Regions from separate parts of the Homo sapiens genome. Here all the other regions are linked to region 4. The links are contacts of gene promoters, found by promoter capture Hi-C in blood cells and fetal thymus (Javierre and others, 2016). All regions are on one chromosome and are shown on one strand. Each heading gives the region's core, a stretch centred on a gene start or on the middle of the fragment in contact. The rest is flanking DNA. Distances are from core to core; before and after follow the strand shown. Region 1 has its middle 1.6 kb from the start of RASL12. Region 2 overlaps UBAP1L (ubiquitin associated protein 1 like). Region 3 holds the start of PDCD7 (programmed cell death 7). Region 4 holds the start of RBPMS2 (RNA binding protein, mRNA processing factor 2). Region 5 holds the start of SLC51B (SLC51 subunit beta).

The links. Contacts are between HindIII fragments. The CHiCAGO score rates a contact against its expected background, and 5 or more counts as called.
Region 1: a fragment that was not itself captured here is called in contact with the fragment with the promoter of RBPMS2 in region 4 in 1 of 17 cell types (endothelial precursors); the score reaches 6.4 in endothelial precursors.
Region 2: a fragment that was not itself captured here is called in contact with the fragment with the promoter of RBPMS2 in region 4 in 1 of 17 cell types (M2 macrophages); the score reaches 5.2 in M2 macrophages.
Region 3: a contact is called between the fragment with the promoter of PDCD7 here and the fragment with the promoter of RBPMS2 in region 4, in 13 of 17 cell types (neutrophils, activated CD4 T cells, fetal thymus and 10 more). The highest score is 14.4, in neutrophils.
Region 5: the fragment with the promoter of SLC51B here is called in contact with the fragment with the promoter of RBPMS2 in region 4 in 8 of 17 cell types (neutrophils, erythroblasts, M0 macrophages and 5 more); the score reaches 8.4 in neutrophils.

What each region holds. Positions count from the first base shown.
Region 1 is chr15:65,068,130-65,070,956 of GRCh38, forward strand. It overlaps a transcript of RASL12 not described here. Among named protein-coding and RNA genes, the nearest start is that of RASL12, 1.6 kb to the left of the region's middle. The HindIII fragment of the contact is 2,380 bases long and covers 229-2,608 here.
Region 2 is chr15:65,100,742-65,103,639 of GRCh38, forward strand. It overlaps UBAP1L (ubiquitin associated protein 1 like), which reads right to left. Exons shown (of 6, transcript NM_001163692.2): 3 at 1,365-1,943. Among named protein-coding and RNA genes, the nearest start is that of UBAP1L, 13 kb to the right of the region's middle. The HindIII fragment of the contact is 1,624 bases long and covers 655-2,278 here.
Region 3 is chr15:65,132,352-65,135,103 of GRCh38, forward strand. It overlaps PDCD7 (programmed cell death 7), which reads right to left and starts at 1,457. Exons shown (of 5, transcript NM_005707.2): 1 at 561-1,457. The coding sequence starts at 1,430. RefSeq lists silencers at 683-1,082, 1,143-1,352 and an enhancer at 1,643-1,742. The HindIII fragment of the contact is 3,462 bases long and covers 1-2,209 here.
Region 4 is chr15:64,774,306-64,777,005 of GRCh38, forward strand. It overlaps RBPMS2 (RNA binding protein, mRNA processing factor 2), which reads right to left and starts at 1,284. Exons shown (of 8, transcript NM_194272.3): 1 at 928-1,284. The coding sequence starts at 1,014. RefSeq lists enhancers at 1,145-1,991, 1,992-2,700 and a silencer at 1,460-1,709. The HindIII fragment of the contact is 6,915 bases long and covers 1-2,700 here.
Region 5 is chr15:65,044,093-65,046,964 of GRCh38, forward strand. It overlaps SLC51B (SLC51 subunit beta), which reads left to right and starts at 1,295. Exons shown (of 4, transcript NM_178859.4): 1 at 1,295-1,490. It also overlaps a transcript of RASL12 not described here. The HindIII fragment of the contact is 5,268 bases long and covers 1-2,872 here.

The DNA of each region.
Region 1 (2,827 bases), core at 169-2,668, 290 kb after region 4:
CGGCCGCGCCCCCACCGCCGGGCTGGGCCTCGAGGACCCTGCCGTCACCCTCCCGAGCGCCCCCAAACCCGGCCGGGAAGGAGCAGAGAAGGAGCCCCAGGGCTAGGGGGAGAGAGGGGAAGGATGTTTGCACTCTTCCCTGAACCTCCCACTCAATCTCTTTTCACCAGCAAGAAAATCCACCCCTCCCTTTGTTCTACCAAGCCAGCCCCGCCTCCTCCTCCAGGAAGCTTCCTGGGTTCAATTCCAAGCCTTGCCCTTTCTTTAGCTCAGCCTTGGCACTCTATATCCCCAATCACATTATTCTGCCCTTTGCTGTGGAGACTCTAGAGGCCTCACTGCAGAACCCATTCGGAACCCAGGCTTCTGGGAGAGGGGGCGGGGCGGAGAGAACCCCTCACTAAGATTTCAGGGCCAATATGGGTTCAGCTTCAAGAAACCTAATCCATTCTGAATTACTGTCTCTCCCTAATGGGAGCTAATGAGTTGCATGTGTTTGTGGCCTGTTGTGTAAATGGGGTGTTTGTTCTAAAACCTGGCACTGCCTCTTGCCTACAGCAATTCTGGGATTGGTGGTGAGCCTGGCAGGGGTCCCCTGGTCATTCCCCTTGGGACTCAGGGTAAATCTGGTCATACCAAAGACAGGGCAAAGGGCCCACACCACGAACCTGGACACTTAGGATCTAGTGCTAGCTCCTGCCCTAGAGTAATCTTGGGCAAGTCACCTTGCTTCTTTGGGCTTCGGTGTCCCCATATATAAATACTGAAGGAAGGGGAAAATGAAGCAAAATAGAGAGTGACAGAATCAGCCCTGGGCTCCAGGCCTGCGTACATTCTAGAACCCTGTGAGGCATCTCTTCTGGAGTACGCTCCAGGTTAGAGCAGGGAAAGGCATGGGAGCCTCAGAGACCTCTCACGGCAGCCCTTCTCCTTCCCCTTCCCGCAGATGGTTAACTCATCTACCCACCCACCCACAGAGGAACCATGGAAAACCAGGTGTGCAGGCAGGGCCCAGGGTCAGAGCTGGATGGTAATAACGACTCTTCAAAGAAGAACAATTATTTTCCTGGCCAGGACATGAATATTGACTCAGCCTAGTTGTGTTTTGGGGAAATCATGGTAAACCAGCTGTGTTATTAAGGTAGTGGGTGGAATTTGTTTAGATTACACTCTCAGGCCAGAATTAGTCACACAGCTAATGGCCAAGGGTTTTCCTTTGAGTTGTAGGAGTTGAGAAAGTGGGAGCCAAGTTCCAGTCACATCCCTGGGCTGGCCCCATTCTGTGAAGACAGACTGGTTCCAGATGGGGCCTTTGGGGATAGAACCAATCTCAATGGACAACTGCTGGAGGCAGGGCTAACTGTGGGCCTGCACGGGCCCAACTGCATGTAAACTTAAGCTCTGCTACTTCTCAGCTTGTGTGATGCTGGGATGTTACTTGACCTCTATGTGGTCTGTTTCCTCATCTTTAAAACTTGACCAACCAGGAGATGGGAGCTGCAAGATTCTAGCTCAGTCTGAGGGTGAACTCTGTAACCATCTGACTGTCCATAGTTAGAAGGGACTGTCTTTGGTGGAACTCAACCCCTCTCCCCTGACACTGGCAGCAACCAAGGGAGTGACCACGTCAAGGAAGTGTTAGAGAAGAGACGCCTTCATGACTCGAATGTTGCAGTAAGATGACCCTTAATTCTCTTCCAGTTCAGAGATTATTTGAGCTGGTGGCCACCTGGTTACTGGGGCCCTCAACTGTGACAGCTCATTGCTCAAAGTCTGCCCCTTCTCTGAGGCTTGGGAGGAAAACAGTGCCCACCTCATGGCTGCGACCTATCCTTTTCTCCATCCCCAGTTTCCTCACCCAGGGGCTGCTACTGTCAGACCCTGGAATAAACTACTTTGCCCTTCTGGGTCTCTGTTCCTCATCTTCAAAATAGGGACAAACCTGGGCAACATGGTGAAACCCTGTCTCTACAGACGCATATAAAAAAATTAGCTGGGTATGTTGGCATGCAACTATAGTCCCAGCTACATGGGAGGCCAAGGTGGGAAGATAGCTTCAGCCCAGGAGATGGAGGCTGCAATAAGCTGTATTTGTGCCACTGCACTCCTGCCTGGGTGACAGAGTGAGACCTTGTCTCAAAATAAAATAAAACAGGGACAATATCAATAAGTATATTAGATAACATGTGTCCTATCCAGAGCTTGGCCCATGGCCCAAGGAAGTGGAGGTTAGTTCTGTCTACTCCTCTGGATATAAATAGCACACATTTCTCATCCACCTACAAAGAAGTCATAACCGTTTAGTGACCAGAAGTTTGTACACTTCAGATCAAGAGAGAGGTTATTCTGCTAGGGCAGGTAACCCAACTCTCCTTACCCTCTACCCCCAACCCTCATCAAGGGTCTCATAGGAGGCCCCCAGGCACTCAAAATCTAGAGGATGTGGCACCAGGCCCAGCAGTGGGCATGCAGCAGGTGCTCAATAGATACCTCTGGAGTGAACGACTGGAGCAAATATAGGTCTAGACACGTAGGGCCTGTGAGGTTTTCCTGACGGCAGGACCTACCCTTGCCACCCAACCCCCAGGAGCCCTTTCATATAAAGCTAAGCTTTTGGTACCCTTTCGCGATGTGGTTGCCTCTTCTGGAGGCACAACATGACAACCACTTCTGTGGTTGTCGAATGATAAATTCACATGTCAAAGGGGAACAGAACCTTAGAAGGCAGATTCAAATTCCACTTTACAGATGAAGCACTGTAGCCTGAAGAGTTTGGGTAGCTTTTGTAAGTCAGTGGTGGCACCAGCATCAGAGCCCAGGCAGGAGT
Region 2 (2,898 bases), core at 217-2,716, 330 kb after region 4:
TTCTCAGGGCTCTCCCTGCCACGACCTCACCCTAGGGTCTACCCTTTATTACCTCCAGGGTGGAGAACATCAAAGTTTAGGAGCTGAGTCTACTCTTGTGTCCTTGAAAAAGATTCTTTGCCACTCTGTGCCTCATTTCCATCATCTACAGAATACTGTCCCACCCCCACAGGGTTGTTATGAGAGTTAAATTCATCTTGGCCAGGGAAGAGCCATCCTGGCATCAACATCTGGTCTTGGATGTGGGCATGGCACATCACGCTTACAGAGCCTCTTCTCTACTATGTATGCTCTAAACAACCGTGTGAAGGGTTGTTGGCTCACAGTGCAGGTAGAGAAGGGGTGGTTCAGTGACTTGCCTAAGGTCACAAGCCGGTGCATGTAAGAAACCAGACCTCAGGTCTCTGTCTTGCAGATTGAATTCTACCTTGGCCTTATTCTGCAGCATCTCCTGGCCTGACTGTGGGGCTGCTGGGGGGCAGAAAGCTGTGCCCCGCTGCCACCTTCTGCTGCCAATCCTGACCCACCCCATGTTTTGTGGAGTCTGATACTTACATAATTTGGAAGGCACCTCACAGAAAAAGAACACACAATTATGAATACAAAATTGGGCACAAGGCCTTGGAAGAGACAAAGGGAGGAGCCTGAGGCTTAAGCTTCTGTGGTTTCACTGTAGGGTCACTTCTCCCTGCTCTTCAGGGTTCACTTCCTCCGTCCTGAAGCCTTCTCAGCCTATTGCAGCCCTGACGCTCCCTCAACACCTGATCCCGCTGTACAGTTCAGGGCCTGGTCCCACAACCCTCTTGGCCAACTCTTCATGTCCTGTGGTTTTGACACTCCCAAACCCAGTGTCTGGCAGGAAGTAACTGTGCATTGAATATTCCTTGATTGAGCCTCCAGCTCCCCTAGCTTATAGCAAACCTCAGCCAGTGGGAAGCCCTAGATTTGCGTTGCGTTCATCAATTCAACAGACATCCACTGAGCGCCCCCTATGGGTCAAGTCGGCAGCTGGGTGCTCTGGAAACAAAAATCAGTGCGATCCAGTCCCTGCCCTAAAAGAGCTCAACCTCGTTTAGAAGAGACAGGTCCTGGATAATTAAAACCACTGTGACCTGCTCCCTAAAAAAAAGCAAGGCAGGCACAGTGGGAAACGCGGGGAATGGGGGCTTCTGAGCAGGGACTACTCTACTCTAGTCAAAGGGCCGCAGGAGGACAACACGGTACAGGCCCAGGTGGGAGCAGGTCAAGGGAGGATGCAGGAGCGCGTGGAGTAGGGGACCGAGGCTGCGGGCTGGGCTGGACACCCAGATTATGGGGCCTGGGCTGCTGATTGGCGGCCTTGGAGGGGCGGGCAGAATCCTTACCGCGACCGTAGGCTTGTGGCTCCGCAGCGGGGGGATGGCGCCTGCCGTGGAGGGCCGCGGGGGCGACGCGGGGGCGGCGGGGTGCTGGGGCGCGGGCCCCGGGGGTGATGCAGACCTGGGGGACTGCGCAGGGCTCGGGCACAGGCTCAGCGCGCGGTGGCCGCGGAGGCCATGCAGGAGGGCGCGGGGCCGGGAGACCAGCTTCCCCTCGGAGAGCCGCCGCCGCGCCCCTGCCAGCTCCAACCGCACGCCGCGTAGCACGTCCAGCGAGCACAGGCGACGGCCGGGGCCGGGGCTCGCCGGGGAGCCCGGTTGGAGGCTGCTGGGGGCCGGCTCTTCCTCGCTGCCAGAGGAGGCTTCTGCCTCGTCCTCACCCTCCTCCTCCGGCCTCTCCTGGTGTCCGGCCTCCGGGTCTCTGATTGTGGTGGGCGCAGGCGCCAGCCCATGTTCGGGGCTGACTAGCAAGAGCCAGGCTGGAGGGGCTGACGCTGTCCCCGGGTCACCGCACTGGTACGGGCTGGGTCCCTGGCCGGCGGCCTCCACCCAGAAGAGTGCCGTCCTCTCCAGGCTGAAGTCGTGCTGCGGAAAGAAGGCGACGTAAAGCCCAGGGCAAACCAGGACCCCGGGGGCACAACACTAACCCCTGGCCTGGGGGACCCTGTTCAGCCAGAGACTCTCTAAGCCTGGACAGCGTCAGATTCTGAGCCCCGGGCTTCCATCACAGCCCACTCTACCCTGGGTTTTAGCTAACACTGTGGTCGATGGATACCAATAACAGTTTAATGGCAAACTGGCATAAATGACAAAGTGATGAATTCGTCAGTCGAATGAAATGTAATGAAACCCAACATCTAAATCCCTTTGCCATTCAGTATGTAGTTGAGCAAAAACTACTTAAAAATTTTCTCCAATAAAGCTTATTCTTAGCAAAGAAGCTTTCACCTGAGCCCAGCAGTTTGCCAATGAGTAGTCTGCCTTGGAGGCCCGCCCAGGCAGACAAACCTCCCTATGGAGTGATTCCTGTCCCCAGCCCCTTTGCTGCCACCAAGGTTACTTTGGGGTCCTGGAAATGTCATAACCACTAATCTTTGTGGAACTCTACTTAGTATGGTCTAGTGTCATTCCTATTTCCATATTATGAAAATGGAGCTCAGAACATTGAGTTTGCTAGAAGTTAGATTGGCAGTGAGTGGCTGAGCTGGTTTTCCTGTCGGTGGACCTGATTGTAGTGCTTTCTCCACTTCGTATCAGACCACCTAAAAAAGCAATCTGGAGTCCACATAAATAATCTAACTCTAGAGTTTATAAAATGAGGCAAAAATGACATATTCCTGTTCCCTACCTTTAAAATTAAGAACAGCAAACATAAGACTCCATCAAAAATATGTAAAAGTTTTAAAGGCAATTTGTTCTACCATGGCCAGTTAAGGAAGAAAGAGGCTAGGGGTTGGGGAGTGAGGCAGAAAGACAGGCACAGACACTCAGACACTTAGATCACAGGCACAGCTCCCTCTCACCCATGACCCTACCTTGG
Region 3 (2,752 bases), core at 207-2,706, 360 kb after region 4:
CGGCTCACTGCAACCTCCGCCTCCAGAGTAGCTGGGATTACAGGCGCCCGCCACCACGCATGGCTAATTTTTGTATTTTTAGTAGAGACGGGGTTTCACCATCTTGGCCAGGCTGGTCTTGAACTCCTGACCTCGTGATCCACCCGCCTCCGCCTCCCAAAGTGCTGGGATTACAGGCGTGGGCCACCGCGCCCGGCCTGTATTTTGTATTCTTAAAACCACCTAGGGCAGTACAAGACACAAGGAACTAGACACTTACTGGTTTTGAGAGTAAGTGGACAATGTTGGAGCAGGATAGGGGAGACCTGTCATTCGTGCAGTGCCACCGTGTAATCCTATACTTTGTGTTTACAGGATTTTACAGTGCACCTGGAACTTTTGTGTACCACACATCATTAACACAAAATTAACATGGTGGTATGAGCTGGGAAGGTTAGCTATCGCTTCATTTTGCGCGTAAAACAGAGGCTTAGCCCTGGGAAATGGAAGTTTAAAGCCTCCTGCTGCTCCAGGTTCCAACCACCACCACTCCTACCCCCATGAGCGGCCGCTGCTCTCACCCGCTTCTTCTCCTCCACCTCCTGCACACACTTCACCCTCCAGCGGTCAATCTCCTGCTCGCGTTCCACTGCCCGCGCGGCCTCTGCCTCCCGCTCGGCCTCGCGTTCCCGGGCCCTCTCGCGAAGCCGCAGCCGGCGGCGCCGGACCCTCTCCAGCCTCCTCCGCGCCTCGCCCACATAGGCAGCCTGGGTCAACGGCTGTAGCCGCTCGGCCAGTTCCGCGCGCAGCGGCGCGGTCTGGGAGTACAGCAGGACCCAGGCCGCGCCGTCGGCTTCGGCCTCGCGCAGGGCCTGGCTCAGGCCGCGCAGCCGCCGCACCAGGCGCAGAGCCCGGAGCAATCGCGCGCGCACTTCGCCAAGGCTGGGCCCGGCATGCGTGCGCTGGGGCACCGGACAGCCTGCCCGCCGCGGGGTCCCGAACACCGCCTCCAGCCACTGCCGGTCGCGCAGGCGTTGGAGGGCCGCATCCCCGAGCACGTCGGCCGGCGGCGGCGGCGCCTCAGGCCACCGCGGGCTCCAGGGCGGCCCCGGGCCGGGAGGCGGTGGCCGCGGCCGCTCGCCGGCGTCGGTCCCCGGGAAGGGCCGACACTGGGGCGGCGGAGGAGGCAGCGGCGGTGGTGGCACCGGGTAGAAGGCGCCAGCGCCGCCTCCGCCGCGGGAGGCCTCCGCGGAGGCTCGGGGCTGCAGAGCCAGCGGAGGCTGAAGGAAGGGGGCGGAGGCCCCCGGAAAAGGGCCGGGCCGCTGGGGGAGAGGCGGCGGGAAAGCCGGGGAGGGCAGCGGCGGTGGCGGACAGCCGAAAGGAGCAGGAGGCGGCGGCTGCGGGGGCGGTGGGCCTGGGCGACCCTGGCCGAAGAATGGTGGCAGGGCCATGTTCACGACGGAGATGCTTTGAGAAGTGACAGGAATCTGAGTGGCTCCTCATGAGAACCTTCCGACGGAAGTGACGTCGTTACGACGCGCGACCCCTGTAGACTCGTCCCTCCGGAAGGCTCAGTGCATAAGTGGGCAGTCGTTCAACCTTCTGTCGTTCAGTTCATAAATACCGTTCTTATTGAGCATCCTAGGTGCAGAGCTACCCACTCCGCATACAGTGAGACTGAGAGATACAGAGCTTCTCTTCGTGGAACTATCTGCCTAGTATAACACACTAATCAATTAATCATGGTGAGTATCTTCGAGAAGTTGGAGAAGGTTATCCTAAGAAACTGCGGCTGCAGCTGAGATCTGGAAGATAAATAGTTAAATAGAAAAAGAGAGGGAAGCACAGTGCAGATGAGAACATGTGCAAAGGCCCTAGTAAATAGGAGTGTGACCAACTACCCATTTTCTTAGAAAAATGAATTATTTTTACTTTTCTCCTTTCACCCCACCTCCTATTTAGCTCTTTAGGAATGCAATTATAGGGTGGGTGCTGTGGCTCACGTCTGTAATCCCAGCACTTTGGGAGGCCGAGGCAGGCGAGATCGGCCTGTAGTCCCAGCCATTGGGGAGGCTGAGGTGGGAGGATCACCTGAGCCCTGGGAGGTAAAGACTGCAATGAGCCACGATAACGCCACTGCACTCCACCCTGGGCGACAGAATGACACCTGTCAAAAAAAAAAATCCAATTAACCTTTACCTTCTCTCCACCAGACACTCTCTACACTGTAAGCTTATCTAATTATGTGTTCGCTTATTAGTTCCAAGGACCGAAGCTTAAACCAGGGACCTCTGGAACTTTCCCATACCAGGGGATTGCCTGGGGACAACTGTCAATTTACAACCTAGCTCCCCGCTACCCCCCACCCCCCCTCCGCCTTCGCCCCAGCCTCCATGGCGCCAACCAGATCACTGATGGATACATAGGAGCAAGTCCCATAGACCCAGCACCTCCTTGGTCCCTCCCCACCCCTTGCATGCCATCCAGGTCAACCAAGTCCCGTGCACCCCCCACTTTTTTTGAGACAGAGTCCCTCTGTCACCCAGGCTGGAGTGCAATGACGCACTCTCCACTCACTGCAACCACTGCATCCCAGGTTCCAGTTATTCTTGGTGCCTCAGCCTCCCTAGTCAGTTGCTGGGATTATAGACCCCTGCTGCCACGCCTGGCTAATTTTTGTGTTTTTAGTAGAGAGGGGGTTTCACAATGCTGGCTAGGCTGGTCGTAAACTCCTTACATCAGGTGATCCGTCCACCTTGGCCTCCCAAAGTGC
Region 4 (2,700 bases), core at 34-2,533:
GAGGCCCTGCGAAGCCTGTCCCCTTCTACTCCAGTTCTTGTCTCCGCCAGCCTAGCTCCTCGTCCCTATTCACTGATATCTTTGAGGCTTTTATCCAGCACCCCACCCCGCACACACATCCTCCCTACCATCCATTAACCACCCAGCTGCTGGTGGTTCCACGGAGCCGCCTTACACTCCCTCCCTTTCGCACATGGCCGGTGGACGAGATGATTTCGCCCCTCCTGGCAGGATCCCACCCAGGCCAGCTTTGGGGTCCTGGCTTGGTTGCCAGGACAAACCCAGAGAGAGGAGAAGGACGAACTGAGTGTCTTTAGTCATCTTCCAAACTAATTAAATTGTGGGCTCACCTCTGCCAAAGCCCAGGTTCTGGGGCTGTGAAGAAAGCCCGCCCACCCCCATGACAACAGCTCGCAGGAACCGAGGAGCCGGCCGGCCCAGGCCTCCAAGGTCACGGGGAGGGGGTCAGGGCGGAAAAGGCAGTGGAGTGAGGGTGCCGCCCTCGGGCCGTGCTAATCCCGCTCCGCTCCGTGCCGCCGAGGCGGGGTCCTGGCCACGCAGGAGGTGCGCCTCGGAGGAGGGCGGCGAGCGGCTACGGGGTGGGGAGCAAGGGGCGCGCGGGCGGCAGGCATGGAACGGACGCGGCGCATCTCGCCCACCGCGGGACGCCCGGACGGCGGCCGGCGCGCGCGGCCCGCCTCGAGCCCGAGAGGGCGGGGAGACAATGCCTGTCCGGCGGGGCAGTCCAGGCCGCACGCTCCCGCCCGCGGACACGGGCCGCTCCTACCCGGGCGAGAGGGCAGCGGCGGGAAGGCGCCGGGAGCGATGGCCACCCCGGCCCCGCGAGGCGCGGCAGGCCCCGCTCGCCCTCTCCCGCGCCCGCCTGGCGTGCGCTTCACCCGGCAAGTCCCGGGGCCACAGACCCACCTCCTCCTCCAGGGCGCCGCCGGAGCCCGCGCCGGAGCCGGTGCCGGTGCTGCCGCCGTGCTCGCCGTCCGGCTTCAGGTTGCTCATGGTGCGGGGGAGGGGGCGGCGGGAAGGAACGCGAGGGCGAGCGCGGCGCCGGCCCCGCGGGAAGTGGGAAGGGGCGCGGGGAGCGGTGCGCTCGCGGGTGCGGAGCGGGTGGCGGGGGACCCACGGGGCAGTGAGAGGGGCAGCCTCCGCGTCGGGCCAGGGTCACATCAAGTTTGGCGGGTGCGGAAGGTGGGGAGGGGGTGCGGCGGGGGAGGCAGTGGGAGCCGGAGGGGCCGCCGCCTCCGCCTTTTCACTGCGACCGGCGAGTGCGCCGCGGCGGCGGCGGCGGCGGCAGCGGCGGCGGGGGGCGGGCGCCGGGGGAGGGGGCGGGCGCCGGCGGCGGGGGGCGGGGCCGGAACCGGCCTCAGCTGGGGCCCGGCCAGCCCCCTCCCCCGCCCGCCGCGCGGTCTCCGGGGGAACGCGCAGCCAATCCCCACCGCCCACCGTGGGCTCGCCCCGGCCCCGGCCGCGGGGCGCCGGCCTCCGGCCGGGCCTTTCCCCTCTCTCTCGCCTGGGTCAGCGCTCTCCCTCTCTCCTCTTCCCCCGCGCCCTTCTCCACGGCGAGTTTTTAAACTTTGATGAACTCGCCCGGCGAACTTTCTTAAAGGGGCCGCGCGCTGCGCGCCCCAGCCCGCGGGAGGTGGAGCCCCGTGCCCCGCACCCAGCGCCCCGGTCCCTGGGCGGCCCTGCCCGGGCGGCCTCGCGCTTAGGGCACCCGCAGCGAGGTTTCCGGGCCGTCGACTCCCCTTGTATCTTGATCTAGGGTTTTGGGGTTCCCGACGCACTCATTCTGCCCCTAAATCCAGTCGCGCAGACCTCAGCTCCGGGGGACCGAGTTCTGGGGGTGATGGCCGGGGGGAGGGGGTTGGGAGACACCTGAGCTTTGGCCCGGGCTGGGCGCTGTTTTGCTGAGTGACCTTGAGGAAATCACTTCCCCTCTCTGGCCTCAGGCTCCCAGCCCAGAGGGTGGGACTTAGGATCTCAAACTCCCTTCCCACTCCCAGTCACTATCTGAATAGGACTTAGGTGGGGATTCGAGTGTTGGGACCCCAATGGTCATTAGCGAGGGCTGCCTCGAATGACCAAGAAGGTTCTGTTGCCCACCTTGCCCTCAACACGCCTGGCTTTCGGGTCTTCTCGCTCCTCCCCCGACCTCAGTGCCCCTCACACCTTTCCCTGCCTCCTATTCTGAGCCCGAAGGCTGGGGACGGATGTAATAGCCTAGAGGCTGGGGGAGGTGGGGGAGGTCGTCGTGACTCCCCCCGCACCCCCGCGCAGGTCAGTAGGGCGCGGCCTCTGGGTCGGTTTTCTCTTCTATTTGAAAACCCAGCCGATGGGGGCCCGCCCTGCTGCCACAGTAGAAACCCGCACCCACCTCGGGGAGCGCTGGAAGCGCTGCAGCCTGAATCCGGCAGAGCCGCGGGAGAACTGGGTCCCTCCTCAGTGCCCCTTCTCCTGGACGGGGCGGAGGTTGCGGTGACCCGAGATCTTGCCATTGCACTCCAGCCAGGGCAACAAGAGCGAAACTCCGTCTCAAAAAAAGAAAAGAAAAAAGAAAAGCTGGATTTGCAGTCACGGACTGGTTAGGATCCCAGACCGTGGACAAGTGCCTGAGCCCCCAGAACCTCTGTGTGTCGACCTCCTGAATTAGGTAGGACTAGCACCACAGGATCACTGTGCTGTGGC
Region 5 (2,872 bases), core at 45-2,544, 270 kb after region 4:
CACAGAAATGATCACTGCTATAATTATCTTTTAATTATGCTTTTGCTTACTTTTTTGTTGGCTATCTCCCCTGGAGTTTGAGCTCCAATGGAGCAGGGCCCTCACCTGTCTTATTTACCATGTATCTACACAGTAGATGCTCAAGTAACATTTATTCAATGAATAAATGAATGCATTACAAAATGAGGAGGAGCTGGAGTTCCAGGCAGCCCCTAGATTCCCTGTTGGGTCTTCTTTCCTCTGCCCCATGCACACACAGTACACACTGTTGACTAATGTTTAACTCATAGAGGAGTTTGGGCTTGACATGTGACCTCACTCAGCCTCTGTTTCATTTGTGAAGTAAGAAATAAGAGTGGGCGGCTGGGCGTGGTGGCTCATGCCTGTAATCCCAGCACTTTGGGAGTCTGAGGTGGGCAGATCACGAGGTCAGGAGATCAAGACTATCCTGGCTAACACGGTGAAACACCATCTCTACTAAAAATAGAAAAAATTAGCCGGGCATGATGGCACATACTTGTAGTCCCAGCTACTCAGGAGGCTGAGGCAGGAGAATTGCTTGAACCGGGGAGGTGGAGGTTGCAGTGAGCCAAGATTGTGCCACTGCTCTCCAGCCTGGGTGACACAGCGAGACTCCATCTCAAAAAAAAAAAAAAAAAAAAAAAAGGAGTGGGCTTATTTCACATAAGCCCACTCCTTGCTAAACCAACAATGATTGCCTAAGATGCACGGAGCCAGTTGGTGGAAAAGTCCATAGACTATCAGAGTTGAATGGTGCTGGTCAGGTGGGAGGAGCACCTCATTCCTGCTTCCCCATCAAGTTACTTGCCTTGGCCTGCTTCCTACTCTCTGGGTCACTGGTGCTCACACAGCCTTTCCCAACCCCCACCTCCAAAGGTCATATTTTACAGCTCCTTGTGAGGAATTCACATCATGCCATGACCTTCACTATGAGAAAGCACAGGCTGTAAAAGGCCAGCCTGGCTCCCTGCTCCGTGGTTAAATATTGATGATATTGGGCAATAGAGACCTGGAGTGGGCACACTACATATCCCCCTGCAGTGATGGAACCCACAGACCGCAGGTCCTCTGCAGTCCATTCTCCTGCCTGTCCAGAGGATCCGGATGTTTTCTCTTTACTTGAGGCCAACACATAACAATGAAAGCACTGGGCTACTGGTGCTTTCGGATTGTGAAAGTCAGGTGGAGCCTGTTTGCACTCTGAGTGCACTCATTCAAGAGGTCAGTCACCCTGGAGTGATACAGAAGGCTCCAGGCCTGGGCGTGTGCTAAGGCCAGAGCTACCAGATGGGTCCAGCTGCCGCAGGCTCTCCAGGCACTGTCCCCTAAGTGACAGCTGTTACTGCCTGGGAGAGCTCAAGTGCAAAGACTATCCTGTTCTCCCATAAAGAGGAGGAAAAGGAAGATACAGAAATCGGTGCTGCTCCCAACAGCAGATCAAGGCAGTCGTCAGGAACTCAGGATCCGGGGTGAGTGTCCTCATCTTGCCTTGGGGATGGGTGGCCCAGGTCTTTGGCAGAAGTCACAGTCCAATGGCACGATGGTTAAGCCCTGTTTAAAATGCAGAGATCTCCCAGAGGGGCTTAAGGAGACAAGACAACTAAATGCAGTATGACATCCTAAATGGGATCCTGGAACAAGAAAAGAACATTAAAGGCAAAACTAACAAAATGCAAATAAGGCATAAAGTTTAATTTAATCATGCAAATGACAATATGATGCTCACTTTAGAAGCAAACTGGATACGTGCTTTGATAGAAATATGTCTTTGGCCGGGCGCAGTGGCTCACGCCTGTAATTCCAGCACTTTTGGAGGCCGAGGCAGGCCGATCACCTGAGGTCAGGAGTTCGAGACCACCCCGGCTAACGTGGTGAAACCCCATCTCTACTAAAAATACAAAATTGGCCGGGTGCGGTGGCTCATGCCTGTAATCCCAGCACTTTGGGAGGCCGAGGCAGATGGATCACCTCAGGTCAGGAGTTCCGAGACCAGCCTGGCCAATGTGGTGAAATGCTGTCTCTACTAATAATACAAAAATTAGCTGGATGTGGTGGCGGGCACCTATAATCCCAGCTACTCAGGAAGCTGAGGCAGGAGGATCACTTGAACTCGGGAGGCGGAGGTTGCAGTGAGCTGAGATGGTGCCACTACACTCCAGCCTGGGCAACAAGAGTGAAACTCTGTCTCTAAATAAATAAATACAAAATTAGCTGGGCATGGTGGTGGATGCCTATAATCACAGCTACTTGGGAGGCTGAGGCAGGAGAATCACTTGAACCTGGGAGGTGGAGGTTGCAGTGAGCTGAGATCATGCCATTGCACTCCAGCCTGGGCAAAAAGAGTGAAACTCTGTCTCAAAAAAAAGAAAGAAATATGTCGCTTGTTTCTGTGGCATCTAACATAGCTGAGGAGGGCTGACTCTCGGTTCTGGATTTGTATCCAATTTGTCATTTTGGTTTTTTGTTGGTTGGTATGTGTTTACTGTAACAATATTAAACATATTTTAAACATATTTTGGCCAGGCGCGGTGGCTCATGCCTGTAATCCCAGCATTTTGGGAGGACAAGGTGGGCAGGTCGCTTGAACTCAGAAGTTCAAGGCTGGCCTGGGCAAGATGATGAAACCCCATCGCTACAAAAAATACAAAAATTAGCCGGGCGTGGTGGCACATGCCTGTTGTACCAGCTGCTCAGGAGGCTGAGGTGAGAGGATCGCCTGTGCCCGGGAGATGGAGGTTGCAGTGAGCCAAGATGGTGCCATTGCACTCCAGCCTGGGTGACAGAGCCAGACTCTGTCTCAAAAAACAAAAAACAAAAAAACACCACTCCACTGTGGACAATAGCTTACCTG